3 separate regions of the Homo sapiens genome follow, and all the other regions are linked to region 2. The links are contacts of gene promoters, found by promoter capture Hi-C in human tissues and cell types (Jung and others, 2019). All regions are on one chromosome and are shown on one strand. The core of a region is centred on a gene start or on the middle of the fragment in contact, and the rest is flanking DNA. Distances in the headings are between cores, read along the strand shown. Region 1 holds the start of EFNA2 (ephrin A2). Region 2 holds the start of C19orf25 (chromosome 19 open reading frame 25). Region 3 has its middle 20 kb from the start of ONECUT3.

What was found. Contacts are between HindIII fragments. The study calls those that stand out against the background at their distance.
Region 1: the fragment with the promoter of EFNA2 here is called in contact with the fragment with the promoter of C19orf25 in region 2 in 9 of the 25 tissues and cell types used here (IMR-90 fibroblasts, dorsolateral prefrontal cortex, heart left ventricle and 6 more).
Region 3: a contact is called between a fragment that was not itself captured here and the fragment with the promoter of C19orf25 in region 2, in 4 of the 25 tissues and cell types used here (IMR-90 fibroblasts, dorsolateral prefrontal cortex, lymphoblastoid cells and 1 more).

The regions. Positions count from the first base shown.
Region 1 is chr19:1,284,316-1,287,741 of GRCh38, reverse strand. It overlaps EFNA2 (ephrin A2), which reads right to left and starts at 1,869. Exons shown (of 4, transcript NM_001405.4): 1 at 1,434-1,869. The coding sequence starts at 1,573. RefSeq lists enhancers at 1,784-2,284, 2,285-2,785. The HindIII fragment of the contact is 32,397 bases long and covers 1-3,426 here.
Region 2 is chr19:1,477,313-1,480,685 of GRCh38, reverse strand. It overlaps C19orf25 (chromosome 19 open reading frame 25), which reads left to right and starts at 1,471. Exons shown (of 3, transcript NM_152482.3): 1 at 1,471-1,523; 2 at 1,781-1,912. The coding sequence starts at 1,783. RefSeq lists enhancers at 1,305-1,424, 1,786-2,286 and a silencer at 1,645-1,694. The HindIII fragment of the contact is 27,509 bases long and covers 1-3,373 here.
Region 3 is chr19:1,731,559-1,734,736 of GRCh38, reverse strand. No RefSeq gene overlaps it. Among named protein-coding and RNA genes, the nearest start is that of ONECUT3, 20 kb to the left of the region's middle. The HindIII fragment of the contact is 7,385 bases long and covers 1-3,178 here.

The DNA of each region.
Region 1 (3,426 bases), core at 620-3,119, 190 kb after region 2:
ATCAAACCCACATGTGACCAGCACAGCGGGCGGCTCGGGGACCCGCTCTGAGGTGGGCCAGCCGTCCCCCAGCGGCCCGGGGTCCCTGCCCTCAGCCCCCAGGGCCCGACCCGAGGCCGTTGACCAGGGTGGGGGGTGGGCCTGTGCGTGTTCCCCACCCCCACGGCGGAACACGGGCCGCCCTTGTCCCCGAGCCCGCCTCAAAGAGACCCCTTCATGCAACTTTCCTCCCGGGGACCGAGGACAGCAGGAGACAGAGGGGACAAGGAGGGGTGGCGGGCTCCAGAGGGCGGCTCGGTCGGCACAGGAAGCGGCTGGAAAACGGAGAGAAAGTGACCAGTAGCAGAAGAGTGGGGGGGGGCCGCCTCAGCCCCCGATGTGCAGCTCCGTGTGCCTTAGGAAGACGGTGACACCCTGAGTGCTGGGGCTGACTCCCTCCCGAGCCCCAGGACCCCCAAAGCCCCGGCTCCCACGGGACCCCCAGGGAAGCTGCAGCCTGCTCCTGTCTTGGAGACCCTGGGATGGTTCAGAGGGTTCTACCCACGTCCAGGCCATGGCCAGGCCCCGGCAAACTTTTTTTGCTCTGACCAACGGGGGCTTCTCCTGTCCCCCACGTTGTGCCTGGCCCGGACCTGGTTCAAAACAAGGGGGCCTGCAGCAGGCGGGTGCGGCATCTCGGCCGGGCGTGGCAGGCAGGGCACTGGGCCACCTGGGTCCTGCCCCCAAGTCCCCCCCTTGCATGACCTTGAGCCAGCTCCTCATCCCCTCTGCACCTCAGTTTCCTGGTCAGCGCCCAGAGGACAAGAGAGGACTCCATCCCACTGCCCCTCCCGGGGCTGACCCCCAGCTCCCCGGCCCCTCAGTCTCCTTTCAAAGCTGGGCCCTTGGCCCCCTGGAGTGAAGCAGATGCTGGGTCCTGAGGGAGGGACACTCCAACTTCCCCAAGTTCATCTGGGGACCTGCGGGCAGGACGAACCCAGAGATCCCTCGAGGGCCACAGTCCCCCACCTCCGGTGCCAAGGTCCCCGGGGATCCCCACCAAATGCGAAACCGAGGGGGCTCCCCAGAGAAGCGGGTGGATCAGGGGTCCCCCCAAGTCCAGGCAGGCAACTCAGGGGCTACCCGGCATCGGAGGGTACCAGAGGGGTTCCCCAAACTCCAGGAGACGTCGGCGCTCTGGGGGATGTGGGGCGCGAGTCCCCACAGTCCGTAGGGCAATGGGGCGCCCCGGGGAAGGCAGGCGCGAAAAGGGCGAGTCCCCCAAACTCCGGGGGGCCGGAGCTCCCTGGGGGGCTCCCGCGGGAACCGGGCGCCCGCATCCCGGCGGCGGCGCGCGCGTGGGGGGCGCCCGGAGCTCCGGGGGCGCGAGGCCGGGCGCGGCTTGGGGGGCGTTGGGGGGTCCCCGGGCGCCCCCCGCGCGCGGCCGCGCTCACCTGGGGTTGCTGCGGTTCCAGTAGACGGCGTAGCGGTCCGAGTTGGCGCGGGCGGCGTCCTCGGCGCGCGCGAAGGGCGGCGGCGGCAGCGGTAACAGCAGGAGCAGCAGCGGGAGCAGCGGGCGCTGCGCGGGCGCCATGGCCCCGGTCCGGCCGCCGCGCTCGCTCTCCCGGCCGCCGCCTGCCAGCCTTCTCCGCCTCCTCCGCCGCCGCCGCCGCCGCCGAGCGGGCGGGCGGAGGGCGGGCGGGAGGAGGGCGCGGCGGCGCTTGGAGATCCCGGGCCGCCCCCGCCTCCGCGCGCGCGACCTCGGGCGCCGAGAAGTCAGGCGGCGGCGGGGCGGGGCGCCGGGGTCGCCCCGGGCGCAGGACCCGGCCGCGCGGACTGTCGGAGCGCGGGCCGCCGCCGCCGCACCCGCCGGGGAGGGGCCCGGGCTCCGGCCTTTGTCCCGCCCGAGCGTCGGGAGGGCCGCGGGCGCCCCCTCCCGCCGTGCCCCGGCCGCGCGGGGACTGGGCGGGGGTCTCCAGCCTGCGCCCGCCCCCTGCCCCGGCCCACCCCGTCTCAGGCTCGTCCCCCGGGGCCTGCCCCCAGCGACCCCGATTCTGCGCGCCCCCCGCCGGCATCCGCGTGGCCCGGCCTGGGGTCTCCGAGGGGCGGGGGCGCACCCTGCCTCCCGCGCCCCCACGCGCTCCACCCGGCCCGGCCCTGGGTCCCGGGCCTCTCACCTGCCCGGTTCCAGCGCTATCCGCAGCCTCACCAACCCCGACGCACGCGTCCCAAATCGGGCTCGGCCAACTCCAGTCTCCCTGCGGGGGCCGGGGCAGAGTTTCAGAGGGGCGCTGGCCAAAGTCCAAAGCTGCTCGGGCTGCGACCTCCCTGGGGCCCTCCTGGGAGTCGCCTCTCCGGACCCACGCTGTTCCCTGGGGATGGAGTAAGTCCCTACACCTCAGCCCTAAGGGTGCCGGGAGCATAGTAGGTGGACCGATGTGGAGTGTGAGCAGCTGGGGATGGGATCCAAGAAGCCCAGAGTGAAGCCCCGGCCGACAGCAAATCAGTCTCCACGCACGAATCCTGCAGGCAGGGGAGGGCCGCTGCCCGGGGGCACAGCTTGTGCAAAGACCCGGGGTCTGATCTGTTCAGGGAACGCCGAGTGATTTCTCCTCCTGGTAGGCTGACACAGGTGGGGAACTGGGGGCCTGGCCTCTGCTTTGTCTTTTTTCCAATCTATAGAGACAGTGTCTGGCCATGTTGGCCACGCTGGTCTTGAACTCCTGGGCTCAGGCGATCTTCCCACCTGGGCTTCCCAAAGTGCTAGGATTACAGGCGTGAGCCACTGCACCTGGCCTGCCCTCTGTTTTTGCCCTTATTCATGCCACAGCCTCCCTCACCAGACTCTGAGCTTGTGGAGGGTAGGCTGTCATCAAACGCTGGCTGGACTTTGCTGGCGATGCCCAGATCGTGTTGTACGTCTCTGAATTAGTGTCATTCACCAGGCCCAGTGCAGGAGAGGGAACTGCAGGGCAAGCACCAACAGCCCTTGGACCCGAAGGTCCCTGTGTGAGGCATTACCCAAACTCCTGGCAGGGACCGTGAACCCAGAGATGGGCAAGCTAACCTGTGCCCCAGCAAGGTGGGGTGGGGACCGGACCCACCACCGTCCCACAGCTCTGAGACGTGGTGGGCTCTGTCCTGTGTCTCCTGCGTGCCCTCCTCCCCCGATTCCCCAGCGGGCCACGCGGGCCACACCACCTGACCTTTGTTCAGGCTGGGTCCTGCTGGGAAGTCCTTCCACTTTTTCTTCCTGTTAAAATCTTGCTCTTCCAGAAAGGTCTGTCCCACCCAGTGCTCTAGCGTCCCTGCCAGGACAAGGTTCTCAGTTCTCTCTCCTCCAGGGAGCTCAGCCCGTCTGTTCTGAGCTCCAGGTCTCATCCCCTGACCCCACTACAGACGTCCCAGGTCGAAGGCCCAGGGCTGGCCGGGTGTCTCTTCAGTGGA
Region 2 (3,373 bases), core at 222-2,721:
TCTTTTCTCCCTTTTCTTCTTTACTTTCTTCTCTTTATTTCCTTTTTCTTTTTTTTCTTTCTCTCTCTCCTTCCTTCCTTTTTCTTCTCCTTCCTTCTTTCCTTTCTTTCTCTTTCTTTCCTTTTCCCTCTCTCTGTCCCTTCCTTCCTTCCTTCTCTCTCAACAATATTTTTTTTTTTGAGACAGAGTCTTGCTCTGTCGCCCAGGCTGGAGTGCAGTGGCACGATCTCGGCTCACTGCAAGCTCTGCCTCTCGGGTTCATGCCATTCTCCTGCCCCAGCCTCCTGAGTAGCTGGGACTACAGGCAACCGCCACCATGCCTGGTTAATTTTGTTTTTCTTTTTGTATTTTTAGTAGAGACAGGGTTTCACCATGTTAGCCAGGATGGTCTTGATCTCCTGACCTCGTGATCCACCCACCTCGGCCTCCCAAAGCGCTGGGATTACAGGCGTGAGCCAACACACCCAGCCTAATTTTTGTATTTTTAGTAGAGACGGGGTCTCACCATGTTGGCCAGGCTGGTCTCAAACTGGCCTCAAGTGATCTGCCCGCCTCGGCCTCCCAAAGTGCTGGGATTACAGGCATGAGCCACCGCGCCCAGGCTGAATTTACAGTTTAAACAGGCGAATTTGGCCGGGCGCGGTGGCTCACGCCCGTAATCCCAGCACTTTGGGAGGCTGAGGCGGGCGGATTGCCTGAGCTCAGGAGTTTGACACCAGCCTGGGCAACACAGTGAAGCCCCATCTCTACTAAAATACAAAAAAAAATTTTGACGGACGTGGTGGCGGGCGCCTGTAGTCCCAGCTACTCGGGAGGCTGAGGCAGGAGAATTGCTTGAACTCGGGAGGCGGAGGTTGCAGTGAGCTGAGATCACGCCACTGCACTCCGGCCTGGGCGACACAGTGAGACTCTGTCTCTAAAAAAACAAAACAAAACGAAATAAACAGGAGAACTTTATGGTATGTAAACTGCATCTCAATAAAGCCCCTGAGAGAGGAAAAGGGCCCTCTGCTCTTTCTGCCTTCCCAGGCATCAGCGGAGAGGAAAAGGTGACCTCCAGCACCGTCCCCGAGGTGGGAGGACCCGCCTTGGCCGGAAGTGGAGGCGCCGCGACCGCCCCGCCCCCGCTGTGTTCCGGCCGCCGAGTGCTCATGCACCACCAGGCTCCCTTAGGTGGACAGCAATTTTGTGCTCCCGTCAGCCACATGGGTGGCGTGTCCCCTAGTGCCGTGTTCCCCTTTTCAGAAAGACGAGCCTCGGATGCTTTTCTACCCAGCCAGTGGAGCCTGGACTCGAACTCGCTCTCATCGTAGCGCGTCCAGGTTCGGGTTCGCCTGAGAGGCTGAGATCCGAGTCTCAAGGGCACTATCCCTTTAAGACGGGGCGGAGCCCCGCGATGAGCGGCGGGCCGGCGGGAGAGGAGGCCGGAAGTGTGTGTCACGTGTTCGGGGACGGGGCGGTGCTCCGACCGGAATCGGAAGTGGCTGCGTCGTCGACGCTGGGCTTTCGGGTCCCGCGCCCAGGTGGGAAGAGGCCGGCGACTGGGGTGACCGCGGGGAAACTGAGGCAGAGGTTGAGCCAGACCCTGAAGCCTTGGCCACCGTGTTTTTGGGCGGAGGGAGGGTCAGGGCCTGGGGCGAGCTCAGAGGGGCGGGACAGGGCGGGCTTCCCCGGGAGCGGGACCGCGACGGGTGCGTACGAGTTCGCTGGGCGGGAGGAGCAGCCCGGGCAAGGGCGGAGAGGTGGACGCCCCGGTCAGCGCCCCCTTCCCCGCCTTCAGAGATGGGCTCCAAGGCAAAGAAGCGCGTGCTGCTGCCCACCCGCCCAGCGCCCCCCACGGTGGAGCAGATCCTGGAGGATGTGCGGGGTGCGCCGGCAGAGGATCCAGTGTTCACCATCCTGGCCCCGGAAGGTAGGGGGAGCCCGGTCCCGGGGAAAAGCGGACCTGAGACCCCGGCAGCAAGGGGACGGGAGAGAAGCACACCCCTAACTCCTGACCCCACGCCCTGGGAACCCCCGCAACATGGGCACGGTCCGTATCCTCTCCGAGTCTCCCTCTACTCCTCCGTAGAGTGGGACCGATTTTCAGAGGGTTCTTCTGACAGGGGTGGAGGCCGGGCGCTGTGGTTCAGGCCTGTAAGCCCAGCACTTTCGGAGGATGAGGCGGGAGGATCGCTTGAGCCCAGGAGTTCGAGACCAGCCTGGCCAACATGGTGAAACCCCGTCTCTGCTAAAAATGAAAAAACAAAACAAAAACAAAAACAAAAACAAAACAGAGTTAGCTGGGCATAGTGGCAGGCGCCTGTAATCTCAGCTACTCGGGAGGCTGAGGCAGGAGAATCGCTTGAACCCGGGATGCAGAGTTTGCAGTGAGCCGAGATCGCACCACTGCACTCCAGCCCAGGTGACAGTGCGAGACTGTCTCAAAAAAAAAAAAAAATTACTGGGTGTGGTGGTGGACACTTGTAGCCCCAGCTTCTTGGAGGCTAAAGTGGGAGGATACAGCCTAGGCAACACAGCCAGACTGTGTCTCAAAAATAAATAAGTGGCCGGTGCGGTGGCTCACGCCTATAATCCCAGCACTTTGGGAGGCCGAGGTGGGTGGATCACTTGAGGTCAGAGGTTGGACACCAGCCTGGCCAACATGGTGGAACCTTGTCTCTACTAAAAATACAAAAATTAGCCGGGTGTGGTGGCATGGGCCTGTAATCCCAGCCACTCAGGAGACTGAGGCAGGAGAATCACTTGAACCTGGGAGTCGGAGGTTGCAGTGAGCTGAGATCACGCAACTGCACTCCAGCCTGGACCACAGTGAGACTCTGTTTCAATAATTATAATAATAATTAATAAATAGAAATAAATAAAGTAAAACAGAGGTGGTAAGCTAGGGCCCCCCAAACCCTGCCCCTGGCTGTTTTTTTAAGGTCTGGGAGCTATGAATGGACTTCACATTTTTAAATGGGGGTGGGTGAAAAAGAACATTTCTGACACCTGAAAGAGGTATGAAATTCAGATTTCAGTGTTGGTAAGTAAAGGTTTACGGCACACAGCCAAATGATTCACATACGGTTAGTGGCTGCTCTCACACCAGAAGGGCAGAGTTGAGTAGTGGGAGCAGAGACTCCAGCCTTTGGCAGGAAAGCTTGTCCACTCCTGATTTACGAGGTGGAAGCTAGTCAGAGACCAAAGGATTCAGCAGTGCAGTTGGGTGAATTTTGTGTTCTGGATGAGGCTCATTCATTCATTCAACAATCCTTTTCTTGAGCACTTCCTGTGTGCTGGGCTCTGCGCTTAGAGCACTGCTAATGGACAAGTGAACAAAAGAAACAAGAATGTCTGCCCCAGGCTGTTCTGGGGCTGGCGGGAAACAAAT
Region 3 (3,178 bases), core at 110-2,609, 250 kb before region 2:
GGAGGACTTCCTGGGGGAGGTGACCCCATCGGAACCTGGAAATGGTTTTCCTTCCACCACCGCCGCCCCCACCTTGAATCTCAGCCCAGCTGAACTTGAAAGGCTGAGCGGGCGAGGGTGGGGGGAGCGTCTCATCCGCCTGGAGGGGAGAAAACCGAGCTCATTAGGGGAGGGGATCAAACGCGAAGCTCCGGGCTGGGTGCGGGAGGAGGCGCTGACAAGAGGGAATAGTTTATCGAGGCGGCTCGCTCTCTTCCAAGGCCAGCACCTCGTCAGATATCGAGCATGCTTGTCGATGCTGCCAACCGTAAGTGGAGGAAAAAAATCGCTTAATGGGCTGCTCCAGGCTCACTCAGGTGGGTGGGTGCCCGGCTGGCCGAGAAAGGACGGTGATACTGGGTCCTTAAAAGGGCCTCCGCCATCCTCCCCCACTCTGCGGGGCTCGAGGGGGCTCGAGGCATCTGCTAATAACCCTTCGGCGCTCGTCCCATCTCCCGGGTTCCTACTGCCTGCGTGTGGCTGGGGGTTGTGGGGGGGTCTCCACTTATTTTAATTTTACAAGCCGAGCCCTAGATGTGGAATCGCTCCACTGAGCTTTTCCTGCACCCGCTGATGCCAGGCCTGGAGCTGGCCATGGAAGGCCCTGTGGTGATGGGAGAGGCTCACAGTGTGAGGGTGGTGGCTGACTTTATTTTTTTAGAGACAGGGTCTTGCTCTGTTACCCAGGCTGGAGTGCAGTGGTGCAATCATAGCTTACTGCAGCCTCGAACTCCTGGGCTCAAGCCATCCTCCCCACTCAGCTCCTGAGTAGCTGGGACTACAGGCTTGCACCGCCATGCTCAGCGAATTTTATATTGCCCGGGCTGGTCTTGAACTCCTGGCCTCAAGTGGTCCTCCACCTTGACCTCCCAAAGTGCTGGGATTACAGGCATGAGCCACTGTGCCCGGCCAGTGGCAGACTTTAAACCATGGCTGACAGCGGGTCTGGGAGCCTGAGTTGAGAAGGGCACCGTTGCCCCGAAAGGCGTAGGAGGTGCAGGAGTTCATTCAGTGAAGAGAAGTAGGAAAAGCAGGCAAAGGCTTGGGGGTTAGGAGAGCATTGAGGTGAGGAGGGGCTGGGTCGGCAGCGTCTGTGGGCCTGGCGGGGAGGTGTCATCATTCCCTTAAGAGTCAGGGGCAGCCAGGCAAGGGGTAGGACTGCATTGTTTTTTTATTTGTTTTGTTTTTTTTGTTTTTTGAGGCAGGGTCTCACTCTGTTGTCCAGGGTGGAGTGTAGTGGTGGAGGGCACCTGTAATCCCAGCTACTAGGGAGGCTGAGACAGGAGAATTGGCTCACTGCAGCCTCGACCTCCTGGGTTCAAGAGATCCTCCTGCCTCGGCCTCCCGAGTAGCTGGGACTACAGGTGCCCTCCACCATGTCCAGCCTGGAGTGGATTTTTTTTTTTTTTTGAGACGGAGTTTCACTGTTGTTACCCAGGCTGGAGTGCAAATGACACGATCTCAGCTCACAGCAACCTCCGCCTCCCAGGTTCAAGCGATTCTCCTGCCTCAGCCTCCTGAGTAGCTGAGATTACAGGCATGAGCCAGCATGCCTGGCTAATTTTGTATTTTTAGTAGAGACGGGGTTTCTCCATGTTGGTCAGGCTGGTCTCGAACTCCTGATCTTAGGTGATCCACCCACCTCGGCCTCCCAAAGTGCTGGGATTACAGGCGTGAGCCACCGTGCCCGGCGGTTATGCTTGTCGATGCTGCCTGTTTTCACTTTATAGAAGAACTGGGCTCTGTAGACACAAGCCACTTTTTCCTACCTGCTCAGAGCTGGTGAGTTTCGGGAACTGGAGGCCAGGAGCAGGGATCACGGGAGAAAAGCCCTGGGTCCCTGGGGAAGTCAGATCAGAGCCATCTGCAGAGGAGCTGGGCTGTGGGAGGGGCGTCCCCTGTCCTGCGAACCTCAGAAAAGCTGAACTACAAAATAGGTATCTGTAATTTTTGTCACATTTGCAATCTGTTTTTGAGCAAGTAATATACATATATACGTGGGAGAAACAAAACTTACATGGAAACAGCAAAAAAATAAATGCCCACCTCAACCCTTCCCGTGCCACCCTGTGCCCTTGGACGTGGAAGCCTTCATTATCTGTCCTAGGGCCTCATGATACACACCATGAAGAGTATCCGTGGCCGGGCACGGTGGCTCACGCCTGTAATCCTTGCACTTTGGGAGGGCCTGGCAGGTGGATCATCTGAGGTCAGGAGTTCAAGACCAGCCTCGCCAACACGGTGAAACCCCATCTCTACTAAAAATACAAAAATTAGCCGGGCGTGGTGGTGGACACCTGTAATCCCAGCTACTCGGGAGGCTGAGACAGGAGAATCGCTTGAACCCAGAAGGCGGAGGTTACAGTGAGCCGAGATCGCGCCACTGCACTCCAGCCTGGGTGACAGAGCAAGACTCTGTCTCAAGGGGAAAAAAAAAAAAAAGTATCTGTATATACTTAGAGACATACTCTGACTTAATGTGACCAGTCTCTACTCACTGTTCAGCATGTAGCTTTTTTTTTTGTTTTTTTTTAAAGACAAATGTCCCTCTGTCACCCAGGCTGGAGTGCAGTGGTGCAATCTCGGCTCACTGCAACCTCCGCCTCTGGGGTTCAAGCGATTCTCCTGCCTCAGACTCCCGAGTAGCTGGGATTACAGGCGCCCGCCACCACGCCCGGCTAATTTTTATATTTTTAGTAGAGACGGGCTTTCACCTTGTTGGCCAGGCTGGTCTGGAGCTCCTGGCCTCAGGTGATCCTCCCACCTTGGCCACCGAAAGTGCTGGGATCACAGGTGTGAGCCACCGCGCCCAGCTTCGGTGGGTAGTTTTTCATCCCTCCCCACTCCTACCCTCCTTTCCATATTTTCCAAGGCTGGACATGCCATTCCTCCAGCACTGAATGATCCTCCTCTGTCTGAATACACCACAGCCCACTGATACGTTCACCTGCTCAAGGGAAGCTTGGTTGCTTCCTGATTTGGCCAGCTATGAATAAAGCTGCCATAAGCTTTCGTGTGCAGGGTTTTGTGTGGACACAAGTTGCCAACTCATTTGGGGGCACCTAGCCTTTTCAATGAATATATCTAGAAAGGTTTTTGTTTTTGTTTTTGTTTTTGTTTTTCCTCAGACGGAGTCTTG